7 separate regions of the Homo sapiens genome follow, and regions 2, 3, 4, 5, 6 and 7 are each linked to region 1. Evidence: promoter capture Hi-C in 16 types of primary human blood cells and fetal thymus (Javierre and others, 2016). All regions are on one chromosome and are shown on one strand. Each heading gives the region's core, a stretch centred on a gene start or on the middle of the fragment in contact. The rest is flanking DNA. Distances are from core to core; before and after follow the strand shown. Region 1 holds the start of FN1 (fibronectin 1). Region 2 has its middle 84 kb from the start of MREG. Region 3 holds the start of LOC105373870 (a long non-coding RNA gene). Region 4 has its middle 24 kb from the start of LINC00607. Region 5 overlaps LINC00607 (long intergenic non-protein coding RNA 607). Region 6 overlaps LINC00607 (long intergenic non-protein coding RNA 607). Region 7 overlaps LINC00607 (long intergenic non-protein coding RNA 607).

Region 1 (4,149 bases), core at 443-2,942:
CTGCTTTCTAATAAATTAAAATTTTATAAGCAATTTTTTTTGTCGGAGGACACACAAAATCTTTCATTTTTCTCATCAAAAACTTTGGGAGAGTAAAGCAAAAAGAAGACTCTAGGAACTAATTTGGGAAAGATTCGTTTCTTTGTTTTAAAGGTAAAAGCATGTGAAAAGCAAATATAAGCAGTTTTTAAACTTAAGAGGAAATGACAGGTAATTCTATTAGAAAAATGGTGTATGTATTTTTACTTACTAATGCAAAGTTTAACAATTACCACTTCATGTATTAAAAGATACTAACTATGGGGCTTGTTGTCACTTACCTTCAGGTTTACTCTCGCAGTTAAAACCTCGGCTTCCTCCATAACAAGTACAAACCAACGCATTGCCTAGGTAGGTCCGCTCCCACTGTTGATTTATCTGATAGTGTTTTCCATTGTCATAACAACCGGCTGCAAATAATTGAAGGAAAACGTTACATTTGCATTTCTCCTTTTCCCAAAATTATGGAATTTTCTTCATGTGAATATTGACGTACATATTTTTTTCCTTTTAACTTTGCTAAAAGTTATATACAATGATGTCATTTCCATCTGGCCAGGGGTCTACATAAAAAAGTTGGAAACATTTTGGAAGGCAGACAATTGAAGTCACATTTTTAAAACATGCAAGGAACTTAAATATTCTTTTGGAGTAATAGTCAAAAAGGACAACTTTAAGCAGCTTTCTCAAAGCAAAAGGAGGGTGTGTCTTTGAAAAACGGAAAGAATTCCAACCTCTGTTCTTGGTGAAGTATCCTGAGCGGCCCTAAAGAGGTCTGAACCAATTACATCTCTTCCAAGTTAGTTAGAAACAAGACAGCTATTTCAATACCCCCTTTCCACCCCCATGTTGAAAATATTTGACCAATTATTTAACAGAAGGAAATAAGTAGCAGTAAGGACCACACTAATCCCAGACGGAAAATTTATAGACATGCATCATTTTTCTCTTTAAAGGCAAGTTTTGGTTAATTCCTAGAAGGACAATCTGAACGTGCAGAATTTATTAGAACACGGGAAAGTCGCAGAGTCCTCGTCCTCCAATGCACGGTCTTATCATCCCAGGCCCTCAGAACCAGCGTGCTCAAAACTCGGTCCTTTTGTGTGCACAGCTGGTTTCTCTCAGTAAAGCGCGCACACACTCGCACACACGCGCGCGCACAAAACTTCAGCCCCAACTTTGGTCGGCTTTAGGGTCCCATCCCTGAGGCAGCCTGTTTCAGCCCGCGGTCAGTACTCACGCTTGCTTTGACTGACAGCCACCGGGGACTGGGGCTGAACCATTTGCTGAGCCTGCCTCTTGCTCTTCGAGGCTCCCGTGGAGGGCACCGCTGTCCCCAGGCACTGGACGGCCAGCAGCAGCAGCCCGGGCCCCGGACCCCTAAGCATGTTGAGACGGTGGGGGAGAGACGCCCGCACCGGGAGGCAAGTTGCCACCAAGTTTGCTTCCCTTCGCAACCTGCGGGAAAAATCCCTTCTAATGCCTCCCGGGGGTTGTCGCCTCCAAGAAGGTGGGGGCCAGAGGGTGGGGAAGGGGACGGGTGGAGGGACAGAAGGGATGCAGAGGACCAGAGAAGTTGTGGCTGCAGGTCCCCTCTTCCCGCTCGCGCCTGGGGTTCCCTCTCCTCCCCCTGTGCAGCACAGCCGGCGCGGGCGTCCGAGCGCCGGGAGCCGGGGCTTATATGGGACGGTCCCCTCCCGCCCCTCTGGAGGCCCGGGGCGCGGGGGAGGAGAGACCCGCCGGGCTGTCCCCGCCCCGCCCCACCCCACCCGCCCGCCCGCCCGCCGGCCGCCGCAGCCGACCGCGCGCCGATTGGCCCGGGCTCCGGGTGACGTCACGGGGGACTGTGGGTTCGCAGCGAACAAAAGAGATGCTGATGGCCCGCCAGGACTGGGGCAAGACAACTTTTTTTCGGTTTCCTTTGCGGTCATCAAACTTTTTAGGGGATGGGGGAAGGGATGGGAAGCGGCTGGGAGGAAAGGGAGTGGCTGGACTTGTGTGAAGCGAAGGGGTTGCAAGACGCTCCCCCTTCCCTTTTCTTTTTTATTGGGGGTGGTGGTAGTGTTTGAGGACATTGCGTCACCTCTCTTCGGGGTGGAGGGGGGGAATCTCTGCTTATAGGAGTGTATTTTGTGAGGAAGAAAACCCATAAAATATCCACGACCTTGCAGCTGTTAAGAATCCAGACTTTTCAGTCCCAGGGCGGGGCTGCCTTTCCCCCCATCCCGCTCCCTTTCTTTGGACTAAAGGGTACTGACTCGGGACTCCCTTATTTTGTCTTCACAGCTCCCTGTTCGGACTTCTTCCCTTCTCAGCGCTGTGCCTGTCTGGCTCTGAGAAAGGGCCAGCGGGCGAACGGGGAGCAAAGGGGAACAGAGACCTTTAATGAGCTTCTACTAAGTACCGGGAGTTCCGCGGGGCGCTTTGCAGATCCCGGGGAAGTTCAGAGAATGAAGTTTTCTTTTGCAAGGACAAAGTAACAGTTTACTTTTTTACACATGCAGGAAAGCCTTCCTTTCCTGGGGATGGGACGCCCGTTTCCACTGAAAGTGAAATCACTGTGAACAACCTGAAAATTGGAAAGTTGGACCAGCTGTGGGGAGAGAAAGGTCTTCGTGTCCTTTCCCACGTTCACCGTGCCAGTTACACACAAAGCAGAGATTTTTTTGCTTGAATCATTAAAAGCCGGGTGGGTGGGGGGCACCCTATGTACTGTCTTGCCCTCCTTCGGCCCCTTTCTCACATTTATTTGCCATTTTCTTTTTGCTGACAAGTTCCATTACAGAATGCCCCCTCCATCCCCCGCCGCCAGATTTTTTATATTTCAATTGTTATTTACTCCAAGAGTGTGGAAAGTTCTCCTTTAAGATTCCCCCGCCTTGAACTCTAAACTCAGAGTGGAAAGGGAATCTGAAAAGTCTCTCATTTAGCAACACATCACATCAGTCCTTTTTGTCAGATAAACACAGGCACAATTGCTTTTAAAGATCTTCAGAAGGAGGAGTCCACCACTTCCACAGTAGATCCAGAGAGACCCGAACTGAATGCTTTGCCTTCTCCTTGTGTTAGGAGTTCAGAGGTTCCATTTGCTTTAAAACACAAGAAGCTACTAATAAAATATATTTATTTCGGCAAGGTACCTATTTTCTCCAAAAGTTTCACCTTCAGTAATTGCCACAGGAGTAATTAGAACTCTGTGTTCTATAAAATGCCTGACACATTAAAGACACAAAATTAGCATTTGTTTTTATTCATGCAAGGATTTAAAACCAAACCAAAACAAAGCAAAACACCCAGCAAATATCAGTTTCCTACAAATAGTGTAAAAAAACCTCTTGAGGAATCTTTGTGACCCACACTCCAAATTGAAAGAGTGCCATGGATTTCCCCAAATTTAGAATCCTGTCTGGGTTAGAGGATTTTTTTGGAATTTCTCATCACTTGACAAAACAGTTTTCTCTTTTCAAATATAAAAGAGCTCCTTGTAAAATGCTTGGTAAATTTCTGGGAAGCCGAGTGTTTCTTCCAGAGGGAAGGATACCTGGAAATCCGGATGTAAGCAAGATAAACCTGTAGCTAAAGCTTTCTTAAAATTCATTGATTCTGGGGGAAGGAAATAAGTGATTAGAAAAGTATTTGGTCAACCAAAACCATGATAGTTTGATATATTTACTGCACTGAAAATACACTAGAATCATATGCATAGTGGAGCTTGAAGTGGAAAGCCCACCTTACATTTTGGAAGAAACTTTTATATTTCAATCCCATAGATATCTAATTTATTTAAGGAAACAGGATATCTCTGTCTCATAAGAAAAAAAATAACATCTGACTGATTTTTATAGGAATGCTTGGGAGTTTACTCTTTTACTTGAAAGGTTTTTTTTTTTTTTGCCTTTTTTTTTAAACTTTAGAAACAGAGGCGTTTCTTAGTTAAGATAACAGGGCTTACTACAGTATTCTTTAATTATCAAGGTCCCTTGTAACTCTAAGTCTGTTATCTCTAATTGGAGAGATAATTAAATCTTAAAGACCACTCTGACTCTAATTCAACCAACGTGTGTGGTGTCCAGGATCGTTGGACTTCCTTAAGAATTCTATTTTATCCAG
Region 2 (4,149 bases), core at 661-3,160, 490 kb after region 1:
TCATACATGCCCTGCTCTTGTTTACACTGTTTTTCCAAGCCATCACAGCTGATATCTCCTGGTGCTATCCCCAAACTGCCACTCTTAACTCTTGAAGTAAATAAATAATCTTTGCCGGCAGGACTCTGCCGAATCTCCTTAAGCACTCTCTAATCAGATATCCTGAGTTGTCCCAATTCTTAGACCTTTTATACCTGTTTTTCTCCTTCTGTTATTCCATTTAGTTTTTCAATTCATACAAAACCATATCCAGGCCATCACCAATCATTCTATACAACAAATGTTTCTTCTAACGTCCCCACAATATCACCCCTTACCACAAGATCTGCCTTCAGCTTAATCTCTCCCACTCTAGGTTCCCACGCCGCCCCTAATCCCGCTTGAAGCAGCCCTGAGAAACATCGCCCATTCTCCCTCCATACCACCCCCCAAAAATTTTCGCCGCCCCAACACTTCAACACTATTTTGTTTTATTTTTCTTATTAATATAAGAAGGCAGGAATGTCAGGCCTCTGAGCCCAAGCCAAGCCATCGCATCCCCTGTGACTTGCACGTATATACGCCCAGATGGCCTGAAGTAACTGAAGAATCACAAAAGAAGTGAATATGCCCTGCCTCACCTTAACTGATGACATTCCACCACAAAAGAAGTGTAAATGGCCGGTCCTTGCCTTAACTGATGACATTACCTTGTGAAAGTCCTTTTCCTGGCTCATCCTGGCTCAAAAAGAACCCCCACTGAGCACCTTGTGACCCCCACTCCTGCCTGCCAGAGAACAAACCCCCTTTGACTGTAATTTTCCTTTACCTACCCAAATCCTATAAAACGGCCCCACCCTTATCTCCCTTCGCTGACTCTCTTTTCGGACTCAGCCTGCCTGCACCCAGGTGAAATAAACAGCCATGTTGCTCACACAAAGCCTGTTTGGTGGTCTCTTCACACGGACGCGCATGAAACTTGGCATTGCCATTTTACAGATGAAGGCCAGGAAGTTTCAGCAATCTGCCCAAGTTAGGAAGTGGAGAGCTGGAGGTCCCACCCAGGACTGCCTCGTGGATGCAGCTTCTCTTGCCCTCATAGCTTCTCTCTCGTGATACATGTTAGGCTGTCCTACTTCCTCCAGGAAGTCACCCCACGTTCTCGTGAGCCAACAATACCATTCTTCACACATCAACAATGTGAGCCAACTCCCACATAAAATGCCGACCAACAGACCAACTGCAGGGCATTTCATCCCGAAATATGTAGCAGCTGGATACAGAACAGAAAGAGACACGAGGTGGAGACACGAGGGTTCAGGCTGGTTTGTCTACAGTGGAATGGAGTCTCCTAAACTCAATGGCAAAGGTCACAGGATGGTCAGCTGTGAGAAGAGAGCAGGGAATCAAGGGCAGCAGCTTGTTTTGTCCTACAAACACTGTCCTAAAAACACTGCAAAATTCTCATGTTGAAACAAAACTCCTGGATATCTACACAAAAATCTGCACACAAATATTCCTAGCAACATTACTCATAATACCCCAAAAGTGGAAACCACCTCACTATGAACGGAGTGTCTCCAAAATTCATATGTTGAAGTCTTAATCTCCATTGTGATGATATTTGAAGGTGGGGCTTTGGGGAGGTAATTAGGGAGAAGGAGGAGCCTTTGCGAATGGAATTGATGCCGTTAGAAGAAGAGACAGGAGAGAGATCATCTCTCTCTGCCACAGGAGGATCCAGCATAAAGATGGCGTCCTGCAAGAGCTCCCTCACTGAGCACTGAATCAGCCAGCCGCTTGATCACAGACTTCCAGACTCCAGAACTGTGAGAAATAAACGTCTGTTGTTTAAGCCACTCAGGCTGAAGCGAGTGTTGTGGCAGCCAAACAGACTAAGACAAACCCAAATGCCCATTAACTGATAAATGGATGCATAAAATGTTATAATATTGTATGCAATATTATTTCATAAAAATGAAGGAAATTATTCCACAATACAAAGGAATACAATTATGATTCATGCGACAATACGGTTGAATCTTCAAGACATTATACTAAGTGAAAGAAGTCAGGAACAAGGGTCCCATATAACCATAGGTTCCACTTACACAAACGTCCACAACACATAAATCTAGAAACAGAAACTACGTTAGTGGCTGCCTAGGGTTTAGGATGAGGAGGGTAGATGTGAAGAATGAAGGAGGTGTGACTGCAATAGGGTACAGTTTCTTTTAGGGTAATGAAAATATTCTAAAATTGATTGCAACTCTGTGGATATGCTGAAAACCATTGAATTATATACTTAAAATAGGTGAATTGCATAGTATGTGAATTATACCTCAATGAAGCTGTTACCAAAAAAACCCCCACAATATTCTACTTAGAATATTGTGCTTAGAAACAAAATAAGTTCTCCAATTGTTGGGGGTCTGGGGAGGAACTCATGGTGTTTCATCAAAATGATCCAAAATTGATTCTGTTCTGATCTAGCCTCTTCTCCCAGACATCCTTAACTCAGCAAATGGCCCCACACTCTGCCACAGCTAGAAAGCTATGAGTCATCCTTGATTTCTCCTCTTCCTGCACCATCCCCCAAATTCAAATGCATCAGCAACTCCTGTCCATTACCTCTCCAAAATACACCTCACACTTCACCCATTTATGCTCCTCCTCAATGCCACCAACCTAGTCCAAACCATCACCCTCTCTCAATTCTGACACATCTTGTTCCCATTCTTGCCATCCTCTGATCCATTCGCAATGCATGGCAAGTTATTGTTTCACAACATAAGTCAGCTCCTGGCTCTCCAAGGCAGACACCCTTCTCTGGTCGCACAAGGCAGGAACTGAAGATCCACCCTTCCTCGTGCCTCCAGCGCTCTGCTCATCATGACCCCCTAAGCTACTCCAGACATGCTCTGCTCCCTTTCGCCCTCAGCTATGCCAAAGCCTTTATCGCCTCCAGCCCTTTGCACTTGCTGTTCCCTCTGCCTGGGCCCCTCTTCCTTCACATCTTTGCATGACTGACTGGCTGTGACTCATCCTTTAAGGGTCCCAACTCAGACCTCTCTCAGAGAAGAGGCCCCTGACCACCCTGTGCAGAGGGGCCCCACTCAGTTCCACCTTATCTCATCCAGTGTTCCTGTTACAGCACTGCTTGCAAATTGTAGTTACCTTGTTTGTTTGTCTACTCTGTTCTCATCTGCCTTACCCACTAGAAACTGGATCCAATCTTTTCTTTTTATTCAAACACCTTCTATAAATATTTGCTTTTTGTTTTTGTTTTTGTTTGAGACAGGGTCTCACTCTGTTGCCCAAGATGGAGTGCAGTGGCGCGATCACTATGAAAAGATCAGGTCACAGGGATACAAAGACGACCAGGATTTGTAGTTGACCAGGATTTGGTGCTACCCTAAAAGAGGTCTTCTTTTCTGGGGGACAGGGACACAGTAATGTAAACGTGTATTTCAATGCAATATGATAAATGTTCTGAGTACTTTTGCTATTGAAGCACAGAGATAAAGCTCTCTCCAAGTCTGAGTCATATTTGTTCTGGAAGAATCAAGGAATTTTGAAGACAGAAAAATGAAGCAAGGGCTCTCCGGTTTTATTTGCAATGTTCTGTGTTTCCAAATCACTTTTAGTAATCTGCCTTTTGAGAGAGGCATCCCCTTTACCACCCTGCCTAAGAGGAAAATTAATTCGATAATTATTTAAAATTTGGTAGGTTTCAAAGGAATGGGTATTTGGAGCACACTTCACTAGTCTTTCCCCTTTTGTTTTAAAAATTTGCCAAAGTAAAAAGTTGCTTTAGAAAGTAGAAAACCAATAATGACACTAGCAACCTGGAATGCAGTAGAGGCAGCTATCCGGCATATCTCAGATTATAATATTCAAATACATGCCGAAGACAAACACAATTTGGCATGCTACAGAACTAGAGAAACAGGTAGGCCTGAGAGTTACTTGAATTTTTTCTGGGGCAGAAACTCAGAAATCCAAAAATGATCTTATTTACAAGCCTTTAGTCTGAGTTGACCTTTCTTCTTTAAAAGACATCGATGCCCTTTCGTTGTTTCATTTTCTGCCAATTTCCAAATGTTCTCCAAGAAAAAGACAACCTCTGAAATTCACCAAAAAATGAATAAATAAAAACCCTCTAAATCA
Region 3 (4,149 bases), core at 657-3,156, 470 kb after region 1:
GATGTTCATGCAATTGTGTATGCCATAAAGAGATTTATATCCAGATATACACTTTTGTCCACAAATATTTCAAAGCATCTTACTAACAATTCTTCCAGGTCTTTTGTTTTCCTTTTAATTGCTGAACAATTTAAGCTACCTGGAAGTAAGAACTATGTCCTCTTGCTTTCAGTAGTGGGACTTAGGACAATTGTATAATTAAATTAGAATCAAATATTAGATTAAATTCAAGCCATTTCTACCAAATCAAATCAACTGCATTTATTCTGTTAATACTGCAGCTCCCGTAACTTCAGACAACAGGAACAGTATGTAAGAAGAGCTGCATTATCTAGGTAACAACTTGTTTTTTGAAAGTTGCTAATATTACATAAAAACCCCACTTTGGATAGATGGAAGAGAGAGACAGAAAGAAGAAATTAAATTGTTGTTAGCTCTATCAAAAACCTGGACTGTGTGAGCAGGAGTTTAAGGGAAAAACAACTTTGAGGCATTGCTGGTGTGAGTGTGAAGAATATGTGGCCCCAAATACGCCACTTTGGCATAGAGAATATTCTGAGCTAAAGACAACTGAGAACCAGCAGATACAGAAAAACCTCTTTATCCCCCGTCAAAATGCCTAAAAACAGTGTATAAATTTCTCCTTGCATAAAGGAAATATACATTTTTAAAGGAATTTCCATTTGTAAAGATGTCTCTTAACCAGGAAGAGAGCTATTTCCAGAGACAATTCTTATCACATGAGAGACTCTTATCTGAATAAAAGATGATCTTTATTTACCAAACATTTTCTCTCCTTGAAACCGCCTTTGCAAAATTATAACCAAGGAAATTATGACAGTGAAAGAAATCAGACCTTACCAACTCCATCTTGCTTCTAACTTTTAAGCTGTTCTTGTTCATTCCTGGCACAGGCCGAACTAACTTTGGGAAGAAATTCAGTTCATGGTTTGACTTTGAAACAAAATTGATAAAAGTCTTTTCCCGAAAAGACCCCCTTCTTGCCTGGGGACCAGTCTGCCTTTGCAGTACTAACCAATCAGCTACAAGATTAGAATTTACAGTTTAGGGTCCAAGAGTATGAACCTTCCCAAATTGCCCCTGGGGATAACATCACTGTTATAAAACCTAAGATCAGTGCTTAAGATATTTTTCAGACCCTGCACTTGATGGATCAGCTGACACCACCCAGATTGGTAATCTGGCTCAACCATCACCCAGAAACAGAAAACAGCAAGAAAAACTCACTTCAGCCCCCTACGATTCCATCTCCAACCTGACCAGTCGGCACTACCCACTTCCAAAGCCCCCTACTCACCAAATTATCTTTAAAAACTCTGAACTCCAAACACTTGGGGAGACTCATATGAGTAATAATAAAACTCCGGTGGCTCTGTGTGAATTACTCTTTCTCCACGGCAATTTCCCTGTGTTGATAAATCAGCTATCTCTAGGCAGTGGGCAAAGTGAACCCACTGGGCGGTTACATCTTCACCTTTCCATAATTTGCTGCCCTGTCCAAAAGCCCCAAATCGTTTTTTCTTTGGTTACCCAAAAATAGTATATAAGCCTCCATCTTCTAGCCACCTCCTTGAGCCATCATTCTCTTTATGAACTCCCATGCATACATCTGTAATTAAAACCTTTTTCTCTTATCAATCTGTCTTTTATCAGTTTGATTCATGGGTCTTAGCCATAGAACCTAGATGGGTATACGGCAAACAATCTCTTTTCTCCCCTGCAAGTGTGAATTGGAGGAAATTTTGTCAATATATATCAAAATTAAAAATGTATATACTCTTTGACACAGAAATTCTACTCTTTTGGAACTGATCCCACAGATTTATTTATATTTATGTAAAAAGAAATGTGTATTAAAATATTCACTGTGGCATTAAAAAATGAGACAAACATAGGAAATGCTATTCAAGATATGTAAAAAAGCAAAGTGCTGAACAGTATGTATAATATGCTAATAGTTATGAGGGTAGGGAAACACACAAATACATATATGCACACATGTACTTACATAAGTGTGTGTATCAAAAAGATGATAGATCCATAAACACACACATACACATTTGAATTTGGAAAGACTGCCTCTGGTAGCTTATACCAGAAAATACCCTCAGCTATTGTCTTTGAGAAGAAGAATTAGGGGTTGGGGATGGAAATTTACTTTTCCTCTACATTTCTATGTGCTAACTTAAAAGTTTTGCCCTGTGCAAGTAAGTATAAGAGAGGAAAAATAATTTCCTCTCTACCCTCCATGGTTCTTAGCTGGGATTCCCTGCAGCAAAAGACAGATTAACAAGAGAAAAATAAACAGAAGTTTATTAATATGTATACCTCCTGTATACACGAGCAATAACTTTGGGAAATCTCAAAGATTAAATCTCAAGGCTAGATAAAGAATTGTCTTAGACTTCAGACTTAAATACTATTGTCCCCTGAAACAAAGAAAGAGGAGTGTGGAGAAAGACATGGTTATGGGGAGGTGTTCAGGAAAAGTGCAATAAACAAGAACCAGGTTTATTTTGCAGATGTAAGTCCACACTTTCTCCATTGATAAGAGTCTCTAGTGATTCAGTCAGCCCTATCTTCCTGGTATGGAGAGGGAGATATCCTTAAAAGTGAAGATTTCCTTCATAGGTATAAATTTCTCTTACAAAAGGGTAACTTCTGTTTTCAAAGTGTCTGCTGTGTCTGCAGGTTCTCAAAATAACCAGCTCAAAATAATCCTTATGCCAAAGAGGCATATTTTGGGATGACTTGGGGTAATGTGTTCTGAACCCTATTAAAGTATTTTTTAAATTATTTTTAAAGAAAAATAATTTGCTTAAAGATGGGGTGAATTTGAATCCCTTTTTTCCCCCAGTTTAAAGAGTTACCGTAAGATTTGAGAGGTATGGGTGGACCCGCTCTGAATTGAGATATTTCAGCCACTGATTTAGGATGAAAGAGGGTTTTCTCTTGCCTCCCACTGGTTTTGTGTTTCACTGTTTTCAGAACATTAAATGAAGTGTTACCATGAAGAAGGCACAAATTACTTAATCCTCACACAAGAGCCAGTCTCATTAGCTCACACTCACACCTCTTAGGTCATACCATGGCCATCAATTATACCCGGCTGATGCTGCAAGGGACAATCTCACTGCTCTGTGACATATTTTTCTGTCTTACAGATTCTAGGTCTCAAAATATAAGGAATGACCTCACGAGTCACAGCCCAGTTGTTCCTATATGTAGTTAGAAGGAGATATCTGAAGGTTGGTACACTGTTAATATTATTCAATCATTTCAGCTCTCTTCTCAACCTCTCTATTCTCAACACTCAATTTCAAGTTTATGGCACCACTGCGATTCTAGCCCTTCCATTTCCCACTCGGAATTTCTGTGCTATCGTCCCTCAGGAGCTCCTTGGATCTGGCATCCTCTCTACCGTCAACCTCACACCCCAGGCAAGAAGGGGAAATCCCAGAGGCCATAATCCTCCAGCCATCTGGGAGGCACCCAGAAGACAACCATTAGCAGACACTCTGGGACTTCAGGCAGTTCTGCTCCTTGAAACAACTGTCACTGGAGAGGCGATTTTACAGCAGCCACTGTTGTCAAGTGGAAATACATTTTTAGTAATAAGAATAACAGCAATGGACGGATAAGCTGGCTCTTCTGGAACAACCATCCAGGGATATTCCAGCCTTACAGTTCTATCAGGTCAAGCAAAAGTTGATGTTTCTACCTCACCAGGGAGCACTTTAGCCCTTAATCTCTTTTACAAGCAGCAGAGGACTTGAAGACCAAATGACAGCCAGGGACCTGGCCATTGCCGGGTAGCCTAGGAATGTGCGACCACTAAGGAATTGAAGCCCTTCTCTGTGTCTCTGTTTTTCTCACTTGTCTTCTTTCCAGCTGTCCTATAGGTGTGGTAAATCTGAATGCACAATTCTCAAAAACCATAACTCCCACTTTTTCTAGGTGCCAAAGAGAATGTTAAAATATCTTCAATTATCCATTCTCTCATTTCAACTTCAGCTTCTAGTATTGATTAAGAAGTGGAGACCACCTCATCTGTCCTCCTCAATCTTATTCATGCACTACTGAGACGCACCTACAGGAGGAGAAACACTTCCAAGCACACGATGTGAA
Region 4 (4,149 bases), core at 741-3,240, 430 kb after region 1:
AATCTTCATTTGTAAATGATAGCAATTCATTCAGATTTAAAACTCTGTGCAGGATGCCACAGCACACACCAAGGAAAAACAGCAAGAGGGTATGAGGCTGAATACAACCCAAGTGCTAGTTTTCCACCTTTGGTACTAGGTGCATTGAGAGAATTAAGTGCCCATCGAAGAGAGGAAGGGTGGAGATGGGAGTAGCCAAATGTCCTGAGCACAGCCAGGACCCCTGTAAAAGGGAAGGAGAAGGGACACATATTATTTATTTATTTATTTTCTGAGATGGAGTCTCACTCTGTTGCCCAGGCTGGAGTGCAGTGGTGCAATCTCGGCTCACTGCAACCTCTGCCTCCCAGGTTCAAGCAATTCTCCTGCCTCAGCCCCCCAAGTAGCTGAGATTACAGATGTGCACCACCACGCCCAGCTAATTTTTGTGTTTTTTTTGTAGCGATGGGGATTCACCATGTTGCCCAAGCTGGTCTAAAACTCCTGATCTCAGGTGATCCGCCCACTTCAGCCTCCAAAGTGCTGGGATTACAGGTGTGAACAACCGCACCCAGCCTGGGACAGATGTAATTTAGTGAAGTGGTGGTGAGAGCCTGCTCAGGGTAGTGCACCTGAAGGGCCAGGCTCTTGGATGGGGACAGGTGTCTTGTGACTGAAGAAGTAGCACCAGGTGCTATGTCTTGGGAAGTTCAGCAAAGGTTTCTGTGGTTTAGCATGGCATAGCACCATGGAACGGCCCCACGGAAGAGATGGAGTTGTTAACAGAGCCATCTACCTTTGAGTAGACTTACGGGCTTGAACCAGGAACCACCTCAGAGGAAGTCACCCCTGAAGAATGACCAAGACTATGCCCCACTTTCCCAGACCATATAAGCCCCAAGCTTCTCACAGCATCTAAGAAGAAAAGAGGGAGTTCTTTTCACCCCATCAGCCAAAATATCAATTATTACTTTTCACAAACCCGCATGAGGAAAGAACAAAGTGGATTTCATTTGATATAGAAAACTAAAGAAATCGGCATTTCTTGTACCCAAATAGTCATTAAACAATTCATACAATTCTATATAAACCACTGGATAAAATACAATGGGTTAGATACAATGGGTTAAAGGAGTGATTATTTCTGCCTGAAAGATTGAGGAAGGCTTCTCATTTCAACTTGATCCCAAGCCCCTCCTCTGAGGCACTCCAAACAGGAAGGACTCTCAGTGGGACGACAGAAAGCAGGGCAGAGCCACAAAGCTACTACCTGGAACATTTCTCTTGTCAGTTTTATTGGGTGCTATTAGTCTCCTATTGCCACTCTAATAAATTACCACCAACTTACTGGTTTAAAACAACACAAATGTATCACTTTACAATTCTGAAGGTCAGAAGTCTGCAATAGGACTCACGGGGCTAAAATCAAGGAGTTGCTGGGCTGTGTTCCTTTCTGGAGGCTCCAGGGAAGAATCCTCTTTCTAGCCTCTTTTAGAGACCCCATTTTCCTGGGTTCACAGCCTCCTTCCAGCTTCTAAGCCAGCAATTGCACCCCTCTCACCTCTTCTGCCACAGTCCCATCTTCTCCTTCTCTGACCCCTGCCTCCCACTTGCAAGGACCCTTGTGATTATATTGGGCCACTCAGATAACACAGAATAATCTCATTTTGAGGTCAGCTGATTAGCAACCTTAATTCCATCAACAGCCTTAATTTCTCTTTGCCATGTAACATAACATATTCACAGGTTCCAGGAATTAGGACACGGGCACCTTTGGGGTCTCATTATTCTGCTTGTCACAGGAGCCCTGTCTGCAAAGCTCACATGCCTCTTCTCACCACCATCTTAAATGAAAGTCTACTCATTCTCTGATGCATAAACTCACTCTACTGAACCCCCACCTCATGCACCAGATGACAACAGAGAAGAAACAAAGAGAAGGTCTTTGTTCTAAGCAGTGGAGGCACAGAGTTAATGCTTTCCAAGACACTAAAAGGAAATCCGTCTTTAAAATTCATGTCTTCCTTGGCAATCAAAGTAGGCCAAGGGACTTTTAGTGACTCCCTTGTGACAAACAGCAGGCATTGATCACACAGCTGGCAGATATTAGCAGGGAAACCTATGGCTACAAACAGAACGAAACCTCTGATGTTGTTAGCACTCGGCTCAAACCAACTTAGCCAGCCAAACCCAAATTTTAATTATCCACAAAACAGTGAAGGCAGTACAACCACTGTTGTACAAGAATTCCAGAATTATGAAACTTTTCTACATACTTAGAGCTTTTATAATATTTTCATCCAAAAATAATAACCTAAGGAAACATACAAATACTTCTGGTAATACCATACACATTTGTCTTTGCTTTTTACTAAAGATAGATCACCTCAATATGTTGGCAGAGCCACCCACCTTTGAATAGACCTATGGGCTTGAAGCAGGAGCCATCTCAGAGGAAGCCACCCCCAAAGAATGACCAAGACCATGACTCTCTTTCCTGGACCAAATAAGCCCCACTTTCTAAGATGAGGCTTTAGAAGATGGCTAAAGTACCAGCCATCTTCTACTTTCCACTCATTCTCATTGGCTTCTAATGTCCTCAGAGGAATGTTGGGATGAGAAGCAAATTAGACATTGACACTAAATCCACATATGAAGTAGTCATAGTACAGAAAGAGCCATATGCAGGTCCTAGGACACATGACCTTGGATTTTGGATCTGACATCTCTCTTTTGGATCCTATCCACCCAGTACCATTTTTTAAAGTGACCTATGTCCCAAGGCTCTATATAGAAGGTGAAAGTGACACTTAGTAACACTGAGTATACAAAATGTAGCGAACAATAGCAGTAGAAAGAACCATGAGATGTTTGTTAGCATCTCAACTAAGGCTTTGATTTATGTAATTTCATAAGGTTTTTATAAACCATTGATAATTATACATTGTTGCTTAAAATATGGATAACTTTAAAATGGAAACACAATGAAAGTGGAGCAAATTAATTATTATGATGTAAATACTATAATCTAAATCTCTCAAAACAGGACGTCTAGAGAGGAAAAATAATAAAATGGTAACCATTGTTGTAACTCAATCACCCCATTTTATAGATGCAAACTCAAGCTTCAGTGAGCTAAAGTTCAGTTAGTGGGTACAAAGCCAAGACATGAGTCCAAGACGCATCTCTTTATTCTCTGTCATTTTTTTTTTCTCTCTCTCTCTCTAAAAAAAGTGCAAGCATCCGAGTAGCTGTTTTCTCATGCTCTGTGACGTGCTAAGATAACTGAATATAAGTGTCCCAGAACTCGGCACTATGGGACTGTAGCCCCCCATGTGATGAACTGGAGGCAAGAGTGGTCAGGATTAATAGCAAATTCATACAAAAACTAGCTTGTCAGACTTTCTGGGTCCTGTACACCTAGCAGATGCATTTCCCAGCATGAAAGATTAGTGCCTGGAATTAGTTGGCCTGGATTCCCTATAGTTTCCAGTGTCACTGGTGAGAGAAGAGTTACAGATTTATTGCTGGACTATAGTGAAATGAAATCATTGTTTGGTCATCATTTCAAACCAACATACAGTCTTACATTTTTCTCTCTCTCTCATAAAAGTCCCTTGACACATTTCCTTCCTTCTTCAAGCAACCATTATCTGCACTCTAAAAAATGAGATCAAGAATAAATGTTTATACAGTAAAGGTAGTCTCCCTGACTATTCAGCATTTAATGATAACATTTGTTTTTTAATTCCTTTCTATTGGAAAAATGCCTTTATTTGTAAATAGTTGCTTAGCAACATTCTTTGTAAATGCTCGTATCTCATTTGGAACACCTATCACTTGGTTCTGGAAGTCCTTAAATTCCTTGGGGCTTCTGCAGCATTCTCAAAATATGGAGAAAAGAAGAAGAAAACATGCAAGAAAGCTGAATCATTCCAATTCTCTAACTACAAGAAGAATTTAATAAAAACGAAAAGTTACCTTCATTTTGGATGGAAGTGACGTGACGCTAAAGGAAAAAATATGAAACTAAGATGCGGGGAGATAAGGAATATTTTGTACATCTATGAAAGAGTCCATGCCTAGAGCAGATCAAGTCAGGAGTGGGAGACTGGGAACATATAAAAAGATATAGAACTTCAGGGTTTTATCATTGCTTTATCACTGAGA
Region 5 (4,149 bases), core at 870-3,369, 390 kb after region 1:
AAAGAAAACAACCCCATCAAAAAGTGGGTGATGGATATGAACAGATATTTCTCAAAAGAAGATATTTATATGGCCAACAAACATTTTAAAAAAAGCTCATTATCACTGGTCATTAGAGAAATGCAAATCAAAACCACAGTGAGATACCATCTCATGCCAGTTAGAATGATGATCATTAAAAAGTCAGGAAACAACAGGTGTTGGAGAGGATATGGAGAAATAGGAATGCTTTTACATTGTTGGTGGGAGTGTAAATTAGTTCAACCATTGTGGAAGACAGTGTGGCAATTCCTTAAGGATCTAGAACCAGAAATACCATTTGACCCAGCGATCCCATTACTGGGTATATACCCAAAGGATTATAAATCATTCTACTATAAAGACACATGCACACACATGTTTATTGCAGCACTGTTCACAATAGCAAAGACTTGGAACCAACCCAAATGTTCATCAATGATGAACTGGATAAAGAAAATGTGGCACATATACACCATGGAATACTATGTAGCCATAAAAAAGGATGAGTTCCTGTCCTTTTCAGGGACATGGATGAAACTGGAAACCATAATTCTCAGCAAACTAACACAGGAACAGAAAACCAAACACCGCATATTCTCGCTCATAAGTGGTTGTTGAACAATGAGAACACAGGGACACAGGGAGGGGAACATCACACACCCGGGCCTGTCAGGGAGTAGGGGGATAGGGGAGGGATAGCATTAGAAGAAATACCTAATGTAGATGATGGGTTGATGGATGTGGCAAACCACCATGGCACATGTATACCTATGTAACAAACCTGCACTTTCTGCACATGTATTCCAAAACTTGAAGTATTAAAAAAAATAAAAATAAAAAAAGCCTAAAATAAGATAAAATTTTTTAAAAAAGCAACAAAGTATGAATAATTTGCACTATTGTCGGATTCTACAATAATTTCCCCATAGGGATTCCTCTGACAAAAAAAAATCCCATTAATTTTTCAATTCCTCATTGTAATTCTTCTTTATATAATTTACGATACAATAAAACAAATGCATATGTTTAAAAGTTTAAACCTATCTTCAAAGTTCCCTGAAGATTCATTCTCTTGTTTGACATTGACTTGACTACTGTAAGTAAATATTTCAAAAATTTTAAATATCCTTTATAAGGAAGCACATAAAGTGTCTTATCTTAGCCCAAAATGCAAACTAAAAAGCAGCTCCATGCCATGTTTTTGCTAAATGTCATCACTTAGATCTCTAACTCACCAACCAAGACTTGATCTAAAACACAAATAGACCCAAACAAGACTTTGTAAAGAGATTCAAAAAAATATTCAGGCCTGAAAAATGTGTTCCTGCCCACATTATTGGCCCAGCAAATACATCCCATCTGGGCAAATGATCAGAGAAGTGCTGAAAAGAAAAAAAAAAATTAGCCTCCTCAAATGTCTATAATTCTGAGCATTGAAAACTATTTTTTGCTTAAACCAAAGAGGTTTGGCTTCTTAAGATTTTTATGCAAGCCTTGCAGGGTACCTAGAGACCAAACCCAGAATAATTCACCAAAAGTAAAAATTTCTTATTTTCTCATGTTTTATTTTTAAGATATGAGAAATTCTGATGTCTAGTGTAATCTGTATCTTTATTTCTTTTAATATGAAAATAATGTGAGTTTTTCCTTTAAGGTTCTTAAAGTAAATGAGAAGCTCCAGAAAAATGTGTTGTGCTTATCCTGTGAATTTTTCTCTAAGCACAGGCCAGACTGGAAAACTTGGAATTAAATGTGTTAAAGACCCCCGTCAGATTAGAATGGGAACGGGTTCTTAGGGGAGGCATATTTGGGGTTGATTTTGATCAACTATTAACAGCATTGCATGGACTGGTTTATCAGAAGAACTGGCAAATCTTCTAACAAGGCCCTGAGGCAGTGAAACCAAAACAGCAAGTTTATACAGCAGAGGTACCAGGAAAGCCAAGTGAGGAGGTTGACCCACAAGCTATGGCGTGGTCTAGGTGGGAAGGGCAAAGGAGACAGTCATGCCACTAAGAAGTGGCAAGCCTGGAGTTTGAAGGAGTGGACAAAAAAAAAAAAAGAGAGAGAAAGGTTTCTGAAAGAAGAATAGAGGACCCAGAAATAAATATTTCCCACATCTTATGTTTATCAAGAGTATTCCCACTGATATCAACAGGAATGAAAACATAAATATCTGCTTCAAACATAATCACTGCAAAGAATTGGAAAGTGGCTGATACAGGCTCCTTCTAGTGGTTCGCTGGAGTCTATAAGAGCGGAACAAGAGATAAAGAAAAACTCCTCCTCAGGTTACAGTTACATGTTCTCTTTGCCCTTCCCACCAAACACTGATTTGCAGAGGTCATTGCCTAAGCAGCAAATATGCTATTCGTCAGGTAATAAAGGCAAAGTTAACGATACAAAGATAAAAGAAGCATTTTTAAATTTACAAAATAGAACAAAGAACTACAAAATAGGGTCATCAATGTCAAGCAATTAATTATTTCCTAAACAAAGATAACCCTGGATTTCAAAAGCACACTCATCAATTACAGACAGACTAGCCCAAAAGATGACTAAGGGATAATATCTGGAATATAGGTTACAGAATGCCTTTCAAATGTCTGAGATACACACATTCCGGAGTACCGTGAAAACTAAACAAACAAGAAAGCAACACTTAAACGCCCGACATTTCCCAGAATTTGTATAAAATAGCATGCTAACTCACTCTGGAAAGCACAGCCTGCTTATCCTTTCAGATATAGAAGGGAAGATGAATCTGTTCACTGCTTTCTCTCTTCCACCTCCCCCTGAGTGTTCTCCACATTTAAGAGAAGGTTTTTGCTAAAAAGTAAAATACTCCTTGGCATTAGGAAGAGCAGCATACTTTGCATTCTTTTTTTTTTTTTCAAAATTGTATCAAAATCTCCTTTGAAAGCAAGGATTGTTCTATTTATTTGCTTTGTATCCTCTATGGTCAGAGCTCTATGAAAGAGAATCCAATCAGTTCTGCAACAATAAACAGGATGTCTAGGAAGGTATCACAAAAATCCTTAAAGCACAGTTAATTTTAAAACTTATTATTACTATTAATTATTATTAGAGAAAGGATCTTGCTCCATTCCTCAAACTAAAGTGCAGTGGCACCATCATAGCTCACTGTAACCCCATATTTCTGGATTCAAGAGATCCTCCTGCTTCAGCCTCCTGAGTTGCTAGGACTACAGGTGCATGCCACTATGATCAGCTAATTTTTTTTATTATTTTTTGTAGAGAGGGGGTTTCACCATGTTGCCTAGTCTTGAACTCTTGGCCTCAAGTGATCCTCTGGCCTCAACCTCCCAAAGTGCTGGGATTTACAAGTGTGAGCCATCAAACCTGGCCTTAATTTAAAAATTAATGAAAACAATTAATTCTACTTTGGCATCAAAAATAATTGCCTAGGCCAGGCGCAGTGGCTCACACCTGTAATCTCAGCTCTTTGGGAGGTCAAGGCAGGCGGATCACCTGAGGTCAGGAGTTTGAGACCAGCCTGGCCAACGTGGTGAAACCCCATCTCTACTAAAAAAATTTCAAAAATTAGCCAGGCATGGCGGTGCACACCTGTAATCCAGCTACTTGGGAGGCAGAGGCAGAAGAATCGCTTGAACCTGGTGAACCAAGATCAAGCCACTGCATTCCAGCCTGGGCGACAGACTAAGACTCTGTCTCAAAAAAAAAAAAAAAAAAAAGAAAGAAAGAAAAGAAAAGAAAAATTGCCCGTATAACACTTTGTAGAAAGATGCAAAATGTTAAAAAAACAAAACAAAACAAAACAAAACTGATCTGTATTGCCATATTAAAAATAAAATAAAATAAATAAAACACGTTGGGAATTACCATAGCAGCCCTCACCTGCTTCTCTGTGCAGGACCCCCTAAGGTAGAATATAAAATGTCATCAACTGTTCCCTGCCTTGAATATCAGGTCAGTCTACTGTCCCTCCTTCCCCTAGGGCAGCATATCCTCACCAGCAGCTCAACTGTTCTGGCAAGAGCAGCCTGTAGCCTGAGCCGGGCCTTCCCTCTCACCTCCTCTTCCCCTCAGAAAGGTGTTGCAAGAGCTGCTCCCTGCTGCCCTCTGTCTTCCAAAGCTCAATTTGGT
Region 6 (4,149 bases), core at 505-3,004, 370 kb after region 1:
AAAACCTAGATTAATTATTTTTTATGTCATTATTTTCATTCTCAAAGGAGAAATGGTCACTGTTTTTGTTACACTCTGTTTTCAAAACATGTCAATGTGCCTCACTATTAAAAAATCTTACACACAAAATTTGAACCAAGAAAACATCTCATTTAAATTACAATTATTCACAATTGAAAAAAAAAGATTCTCTCCACTAAAGGATTCATCATTGGTTTATTTTCAATACAGTAATAAGAATTTTCAATATAATGAAATTATCTGAGTATATTTTAATATTTACACACAAGTTCTCAGAGTTTCACATTTTAAAATATGCAACAAAGTTATTCTTTTTCTAAGCAGATAGATTATAAATACTACTATTTTCTCCCTGTTATACTGTCCACCACTGCATTGTCACTAATTGCTATTTCATAGAAACTTTGTCCTGTTCCAAATATATATCTCAAGTGTATTTCTTTGATCATTTACTAATTTACTTTTTTAATTGAGTCACTCATGTAACTATTCATTAAACATCCAAAATGTTTCACGTCTTTTACCTTGCAGAGAAAATGGCTAATACCACTTTATACCTCTTCTCCTGTGCTCTGGGCAACACAGGACCTGCTTATTCATTTAACTAGAATTCAAACTTCCGTCATAACCCTTAGTGATACTTTCAGTAGAACAGAAAGCCCTGCATGAATACAACTGCATAGGAAAATTTAACATATAATAAAGTCAGCACCTCAAATTAGTGGGAAAAAGATGAACATTTAAGTGAGTAGTATTAGGACAACTATTAACAGATAGATAGCTATACTTTAAAAGGAGGAAATGGATCCATTTCTCACACCATAAAACAAGATAAATTCCAAGTGTATCAGGAATGTAATAAAATGAAACCATACAAATACTACATGAAACATGAGTGAATTGCTTTATTACATGACACTTGGAAAAATGTTCCTAATCATGACTCAAAATCCAGAAGTAAAAAGAGAAAGGACTGATACAATTGACGATGTAAAAAATAAAATAAAGTTAGAAACCTTTATATGTGAAAAGTGTCATAAGTAATGTAAAAAGGGGACAAATGACAAACTGGGGAAAATATGTGCCACTTACGTCACCCAAAGCGATTATTCTTCACATAAACAGAGCTTTTAGAATTTGAGAAGAAAAGACCGATAACACTCTATTGTAAAACGAAACTAAGAAACAATTGATAAGCAAATTCAAGTGACCTACAAAAAGCTCAACAGTGCTAATAGTAAGAGAAGTATAATTTTACACTTCTCTGAGATTCTAGTTCTCAATTATCACTGGATGGGAAAAATCCAAAAGTTTGATCACATAAACAGTTGACCAGACTGTGGGGAAGCAAGCACTTTTGCTCTGCTGGTGGGAATGCAAAATTTCACCTCTCTTCCAGAGGAAGATTTGCTGATACCTTGCTAGATATTTACTCAGCGACACCATGTTGAGTAATCTATTCAAAAGATACATTGGCAAAACTATAAGAAGATGCACAAGGCCATGCATTGCAACACCATTAATAATAATAAAGAACTTGGAAGCAATCCAAATATCCATAATGGAGAATGGATTCAATAAAGAATAAATCAGGATACAGCCATACAATGGAGTACAAGCCTGCTACAAAAAAGAAATGAGAATTATCTCTATATTACCATGGAGTCATCTTCAGACAAGTCCTTAAATTTTTTAAAGGCAGGGAAGGCTTAACATATACAGTTCTTTAAATGGTTATCTATGATGAAAGAAGGAATTATATAGAAGGAGCAGGGCCAGGCACAGTGGCTCATGCCTATAATCCCAGCACTTTGGGAGGCCGAAGTGGGTAAAACAAGTGAGGTCAGGAGTTCAAGACCAGCCTGGCCAACATGGGGAGACCCCTTTTTTTGTATTTTTTTAGTAGACAAGGAGTTTCCCATCTGGGCGTGCTGGTGCATGCCTGTAATCCCAGCTACTCGGGAGGCTGGGGCACAAGAATCGCTTGAACCCAGGAGAAGGAGGTTGCAGTGACCTGAGATCATGCCACTGTACTCCAGCCTGGGTGACAGAGTGAGGGAAAAAAAAAAAAAAGAAGGGACAGGGTCAAAGCAATACTTCTATGAATATACCTTGTTTTGTATATTTGAATTTGGTACAGTGTAAATACTTTGCATAATTATAAAACAAAATTAAACATAACAAAATCAGATACTTAACAATTGAGAGCAAAATTAGTCAAGTAAATACAACTGTGTATCAGATGGATGGCAAAACCACATAGAGGAACTATTCCAAATGACTTTGAAACATTGTAAACTGACTATAAATTTCTATTGAGATATACTCTGTGGACAAAAAGAACTGCAAATAAATCTTAAAATTATCAAATCACTGCAGCTAGTGGTAGGTATTGTTATTCTGAGACTGTCGTGTGCATTGTGAGATTAAGCAAATAAGTAATTGTCTTGGTGCCATCAGAAACCAGGATTTTTGTCATGAGAGAAAGGAAATACAAACGTAAGATGCAGAAGATTGAGTTAAAAGTCCTATTCTATATTTGAATATATATAAATTCATGATGTATTTTATTTAAAAATATATATATATTTCCTACCTCTATCCTCTGAAAAGATCAACCTAAGAGCAATGAGGAGTCTTAATTCTCATATTGCTGTTTCTAGTCATCATTTCCAAATCAAAGCAATCATGCACCTGTAATCCCAGCACTTTAGGAGGCCGAGGTGGGTGGATCACCCTCCTCGAGGTCAGGAGTTCAAGACCAGCCTGACCAACATGGTGAAACCCCCATCTCTACTAAAAATACAAAAATTAGCGGGCGTGGTGGTGCGCACCTGTAATCCCAGCTACTCAGGAGGCTGAGGCAGGAGAATCTCTTGAACCTGGGAGGTGGAGGTTGCAGTGAGCCAAGATCTTGCCACTGCACTCCAACCTGAGTGACAGAGCGAGACTCTGTCTCAAAAAAAAAAAAAAAAAAAAAAGGAAAAGAAAAAAAGAAAAAGAAAAAATGGCTGATTCCAAGTCTGAGAAAGGAAAAGTAGAGGATGAGCCTAGAACATTTTGTCATACTAGACAACGAGGAGGCTCTCAGAGATTACTGAGATTGCTCAAAAGATTCAAAAGACAACTTGAATAGGTTGCCACTGGCCAAAGATAAACTAATTCGACACTTCAGAACACTCACTTCCATTCTTTGAAATCTGTGCTTCCTAGGTGGCTATCTTCAGACTTTGCATTTGAACACTTTAAACTAGATTTTGACCCTTTTGATTATTTTAGGATGACATTTTGGTGACCCAGATGGGACCCAAAGCAAGCCGCCAGTGATCCCCACCATTTCACCAACAACAGTCAGGGCACTGGTATTAGCATGAATGACTTTTGTTCACTCGACCTCACTAGAGCCAGGAGGAGTCTCTGGTGAGGTTCCTCTTCAAGTTCAAATCTCCCTGATTTTTGTTGATATTCAGACCTTATTCAAGCCACCTAATTCCACGCTCAATAGAGCTGGAATTAAAGCTCTGCTTTTCAGGTAAGGTTTTGGGTTTTGTTCTCTAGAGATTCTGCTCTTTGCAGGTTTTGTTTTGTTTATTTTGTGTTTTGTTTTGTTTTTATAGACAGAGTCTTGCTTTTTTTTATAGACAGAGTCTTGCTCTGTTGCACAGGCTGGAGTGCAGTGGTGCACTCATGGCTCACCGCAGCCTCAAACTCCTAGGCTCAAAGAATCCTCCCACCTCATCCTCAGGAGAAGCTGGGACTGTAGGTGCAGGGCCACCATGCCTGGCTAACTTACTTTCTGTAGAGACAGGGTCTCATTATGTTGCCCAGGCTCATCTCCAATACTTAGCCTCAAGTGATCCTCTCAAAGTGCTGGGATTACAGGCATGAGCTACTGTGCCTGTCCTATAGATTTAGGTTAACAGTTGTTTGTTGAACTATGCATTAGAGTTTGTGCAGCCTTTGCTCTCATTCGCACTATGGTCAGGAAAGGAAACCATTTCTCTCTCTGAAAAGAGGAAGTGAATTTTTTTGTGGTTTAAGCAAAGTTTGTAATTAAAAAAAAAAAAAACTGGCTAAACTTGGAAGCTGGGTTCATTTGACATATCTAAAGTCCCTTCTGAGTGGCCA
Region 7 (4,149 bases), core at 511-3,010, 350 kb after region 1:
ATATAAGGCAGAGTTTTATTTTTGAAAGTAAACAGGGACACACAATTGGACTCTTTCTAAAGCTTCCAATTTTCTCAAATTTTCCATTTGGATGATATGCATTAAGCCCATCCTTAGTGACCCCAGCTGGTCATTATCATTACTAACAACAAAATATAGCAGATATTTATTTGGATAATGATGCTGACTCAGTAGTCTAGAGGGAACACGCTTATGAAGGAAGGAGCTGCAGTCAACATTGTGCAAGTGATCTGCTGCTAAGCCTGAATGGGGCAGGACTGAGGTTCTGTAAAGAAATTACACTAGCTCCATTGTAAGGTGATGGTAAGTATGTGTGTGTGTGTGTGTGTGTGTGTGTGTGTGTGTGTGTGTGTATGCAGGTGCACATTTGTACTTTATCCCCTTAGAGGAAATGGAATCTTTTATTTTGTGAGGCATTCTGTTTTGCTGTTTTTCTAGCAATACATAAAGCTGTCTTATTCTAAGAAGGTCAAAGCATTTTATAGACATTACCTCAGCAGGCCATGCAAGAGTCTAGCAGAGTCCGCATGGTCAGGTATTATTGTTTCCTGAATCAATGTCCTGCTGCAACTCCTAAAAGGGCTCTTGAATGCTAACCAAAGTAGTCCCACCACTTCAAAGCTCACAGATGCTTAAATTAGACTTGAAGGTGAGGGTTCAAGGGAGGCGTTTTTCTTGGTTTCTAATTCTTGCCATCTGGTCTTAATCTGACTCCAGAGAGAAGCAAGCTGGCGGGTGACAGCTTAGAGCATGGCTAGTCTTTAGAAATGCCACCCAATCCTTTTCTGCATAATTGGTACCAGGATTTGCATAGATTTGCATACATTATGTATCTATCAGTATTCTTTTAGATCCCATTTAGAATTAAATTAATTTTGCTATATTTAAGATGTCATTCTAGGTGGCTTTTTCATTTTCTTTTTCAGATGGTTGTGCTACCTGCCTTTATTAGCCATTGCTGTATTGGGGTTTCCCAATGAAAACTGCTCTGTCAATAGCAAAGCCATTCATTTAATAAATACGTGTTGAGTAAATGAGTGAAGCCAAGATCTTGACCTGTCCATCCCAGTTATTAATCCTGAATCAACATCTTTAAGCTTGCTTGGGCTAGAGAACAATTGAATGTCTGGCTAGATGTGGGGAGCAGAACGAAGGCAAGGGCTACCCACAGGCTGGCCACGGAGAAGATGGACGGCATGTCTGATGCCTCAGGCTGTAGAAGTGGGGCTGTCTTGAGGCTATGGCACTTCCCCTTCTAACATGCCCCGGGTACTTTGGGCACACTCATCTGTTCCCCTGTCGTCTCCTCCTTTAGAACTGGGGTGGAAGAGAATGGGAAAGATAATTGGGATAAAGCAAGGTTGGAATTTGCCTGCTCAGTGACAGGCCATCCTCCTGTGCTTAGAGGGCCTTGCTGATAGTAATTCATGTTGAGACACTCTGCTCTTATCTTGGACAGCACTGCTTTCTTCTCGGCTATCTGAAGCCTTCTAGAAAAGCATTAAGTTCCCTCAAACACACTCCCCACACTAAAATGAGAGTCTTTTTTTGCTATAAGGAGGCTTTTTTTTTTTTTTTTGCCAATTCCAGTGTTGAACCTCTAAAGAATCCTGGGATTGAAGTTTACACAACCCTGGGGCTCTCTATCCAATGTATATAAGCACCCCTTGGCGAAGAGCTCTACCCTCACAGAGTCAGATTAAATAGGTCTGGACAGCCGTGGTGGCTCAGGCCTGTAATCCCAGCACTTTGGAAGGCTGAGGCAGGAGGATTACTTAAGGCCAGGAGTTTGAGATGAGCCTGGGCAACAAAATGAGACCCCATCTCTATGAAAAAAAAAAAAATTTAATTAGCTAGGTATGGTGGCATAGGCCTGTACTCCTAGGTACTTAGGAGGCTGAGATGGAAGGATCGCTTGAGCCCAGGAGTTTGAGGTTACAGTGAGCTATGATCACACCACTGCACTCCAGCCTGGGTGACAGAGCAAGGCCCTGTTTCTAAAAATTAAGTAAATAAAATAGGTCTGGAGTGGATTCCAGGAATCCAAACCCAGGTGTTGAAAAAGCAACTGTAGATAATACTGATGGGCAGTGGAGTTGAGAACCTCTAACAACTCATTTACCAGTGAAGGGAATTTGGTTCAGAGAGATGTAATTTAGTAGAAAGCCAAGCCCTAGAACCAGATTTCTCCCCGGTTTCCAATACACCCACACCATTTCTTTTTCCCCACAAAAGTTCTTGTCAAATATTTCAAGAAACAGAAGAATAAAAGTGATTTGCTGAGGGTTGAGATTGGGGGAAATAAGGTATCTGTATTTAAGGCAGTGGCACCTGGAGTAAGGTAGAGAATAGACTCTTATGAGGGCAAGAATATGGTCTTCCCAAGCTTTGCTTTTACAGAAACGGAAACTAGCAGTTCCCAGAAGCCTGCTAAAGAATAAAAACCAGGCGTGGTGGCTCATGCCTGTAACCAAAGCACTTTGGGAGGCCAAGGCGGGCATATCACCTCAGGTCAGGAGTTTGAGACCAGCCTGGCAAACATGGTGAAACCCCATCTCTACCAAAAAATACAAAATTAGCCGAGTGTGGTAGCGTGCACCTATAGTCCCAGCTACCGGGAGGCTGAGGCAGGAGAATCACTTGAACCCGGCAGTTGGGGGTTTCAGTGAGCCAAGATTGTGTCACTGGGTGATAGAGTGAGACCTCGTCTCAAAATAATAATAATAATAATAAAGTCCATCGAGTTACACAGGGCCCCACTTAACAGCCCTCGCCACTGATCCAACTTAACGTTGGCTTCTCAGCTCAGGTTTCCGATAAGGTCAGAGGTGGTTTCCTGGGATAAGAAATGGAAGCTCCTTATTCTTAATCTTCCAAAGAATCCAAAGGGTTCTTCAGAAACACTTTGCCAAGGGTCAGGGACCCTGAGTTCAAAAGCTATCAGGGATTGATATTCAGCCGAATCGCTCTTTGGCCCTCCTTAAGGCACCTTCTGGAATTCCTAGGCCATATTTTGCTTTGCAGCAAAAGAGCATTAGAGGCTTAATCTAAGACTCAGGAAAGTTCTCAAAACTCAAGAAATTGTGAAAACATAAGACCTCAGTGGTTAAGAGAGTCCTCATGGTTGCCCTTAACTCTCTGTAGTCCCCAGACTGAACTCTATACCAAAAATACAGTTTCAAAGTCTACGCAAAACAGGAAGGTGCATTTGATCTAAAGGTAACCGAGGAGTCCTGACTGCATCAAGCCCAGGAGCTCTGCCCCACACTAAGATAAATGATATGTGAACTACACAAATACTGTTTGGCTTCTTTACACCACGCAACACATGGACTTTTGTGTGCTTCCCAACCTACTTCCCAGAACTTACGTAGTGAGAACTTATCTATTTTGCAGACGATGCCGTGCATACGTTGTCTCATCTAATCCTCACAGAAATCTCATAAGGTAGGTGTCACCATCCTTTACAGATGAAAGAAACTCCCCCAGATCACTTAGAAAGCAGCAGGGCCATGGCTCACTCCTATAATCCCAGCACTTTGGGAGGCCGAGGCAAGTGAATCACTTGAAGTCAGGAGACCGAGACCAACCTGGTCAACATGGTGAAACCCGGTCTCTACTAAAAAAAATACAAAGAGTACCTGGGCATGGTGGCATGCACCTGTAATCCCAGCTACTCAGGAGGCTGAAGCAAGAGAATTGCTTGAACCTGGGAGGTGGAAGTTGCAGTGAGCCGAGATCGCACTACTGCACTCCAGCCTGGGTGACAGAGGGAGACTCTATCTCAAAATAAAAAAGAAAGAAAGAAACCAGCAGGGCCAGGATTTGAGCTCATGTCTGTCCAGCTCCAAAGGATATGCTCTTTTCACTACATAGGCAACCTCTCCTGAAAAAGCAAGAGAAGAGTTGGGTGACTCAAACACGCTTGCTCTCCCCTGCTATAGAATGACTCTGCCCTTTGCCTGGTGTTTGGAAGTCCAAGTTGAGCCTCATATCTGTGAGGATCCCCCTCTCACCATGAGGAGAAAGCAATGTGCATTCCCCCCTTCTCCGCAGAGCTTTCCTGGGCCCTAGGGCTAGAGACAGCTCTGCTGAAGCAGCTTAAATATGTACATTTCCAGGAAGAAT

What was found. Contacts are between HindIII fragments. The CHiCAGO score rates a contact against its expected background, and 5 or more counts as called.
Region 2: a contact is called between a fragment that was not itself captured here and the fragment with the promoter of FN1 in region 1, in 4 of 17 cell types (M1 macrophages, M0 macrophages, erythroblasts and 1 more). The highest score is 6.3, in M1 macrophages.
Region 3: a fragment that was not itself captured here is called in contact with the fragment with the promoter of FN1 in region 1 in 7 of 17 cell types (endothelial precursors, M0 macrophages, M2 macrophages and 4 more); the score reaches 9.6 in endothelial precursors.
Region 4: a fragment that was not itself captured here is called in contact with the fragment with the promoter of FN1 in region 1 in 9 of 17 cell types (endothelial precursors, M1 macrophages, M0 macrophages and 6 more); the score reaches 11.7 in endothelial precursors.
Region 5: a fragment that was not itself captured here is called in contact with the fragment with the promoter of FN1 in region 1 in 2 of 17 cell types (endothelial precursors and M2 macrophages); the score reaches 13.5 in endothelial precursors.
Region 6: a fragment that was not itself captured here is called in contact with the fragment with the promoter of FN1 in region 1 in 2 of 17 cell types (endothelial precursors and M0 macrophages); the score reaches 8.0 in endothelial precursors.
Region 7: a contact is called between a fragment that was not itself captured here and the fragment with the promoter of FN1 in region 1, in 1 of 17 cell types (endothelial precursors). The highest score is 8.6, in endothelial precursors.

The regions. Positions count from the first base shown.
Region 1 is chr2:215,434,376-215,438,524 of GRCh38, forward strand. It overlaps FN1 (fibronectin 1), which reads right to left and starts at 1,693. Exons shown (of 46, transcript NM_212482.4): 1 at 1,280-1,693; 2 at 321-449. The coding sequence starts at 1,427. It overlaps FN1-DT (FN1 divergent transcript), which reads left to right and starts at 1,316. Exons shown (of 2, transcript NR_187198.1): 1 at 1,316-1,934; 2 at 2,544-4,149. RefSeq lists an enhancer at 1-204 and silencers at 1,717-1,776, 1,787-1,876. The HindIII fragment of the contact is 4,490 bases long and covers 1-3,619 here.
Region 2 is chr2:215,927,172-215,931,320 of GRCh38, forward strand. No RefSeq gene overlaps it. Among named protein-coding and RNA genes, the nearest start is that of MREG, 84 kb to the right of the region's middle. RefSeq lists an enhancer at 440-966. The HindIII fragment of the contact is 6,678 bases long and covers 1-4,149 here.
Region 3 is chr2:215,908,373-215,912,521 of GRCh38, forward strand. LOC105373870 (a long non-coding RNA gene) reads left to right here and starts at 279. Exons shown (of 3, transcript XR_001739231.2): 1 at 279-335; 2 at 3,186-3,269; 3 at 3,414-3,500. The HindIII fragment of the contact is 5,383 bases long and covers 1-4,149 here.
Region 4 is chr2:215,865,553-215,869,701 of GRCh38, forward strand. No RefSeq gene overlaps it. Among named protein-coding and RNA genes, the nearest start is that of LINC00607, 24 kb to the left of the region's middle. The HindIII fragment of the contact is 2,223 bases long and covers 880-3,102 here.
Region 5 is chr2:215,824,618-215,828,766 of GRCh38, forward strand. All of the region lies in intron 1 of LINC00607 (long intergenic non-protein coding RNA 607), which reads right to left. Among named protein-coding and RNA genes, the nearest start is that of LINC00607, 17 kb to the right of the region's middle. The HindIII fragment of the contact is 7,248 bases long and covers 1-4,149 here.
Region 6 is chr2:215,807,777-215,811,925 of GRCh38, forward strand. The region is part of intron 1 of LINC00607 (long intergenic non-protein coding RNA 607); the gene reads right to left. Among named protein-coding and RNA genes, the nearest start is that of LINC00607, 34 kb to the right of the region's middle. The HindIII fragment of the contact is 4,814 bases long and covers 1-4,149 here.
Region 7 is chr2:215,786,560-215,790,708 of GRCh38, forward strand. The region is part of intron 1 of LINC00607 (long intergenic non-protein coding RNA 607); the gene reads right to left. Among named protein-coding and RNA genes, the nearest start is that of LINC00607, 55 kb to the right of the region's middle. The HindIII fragment of the contact is 1,289 bases long and covers 1,117-2,405 here.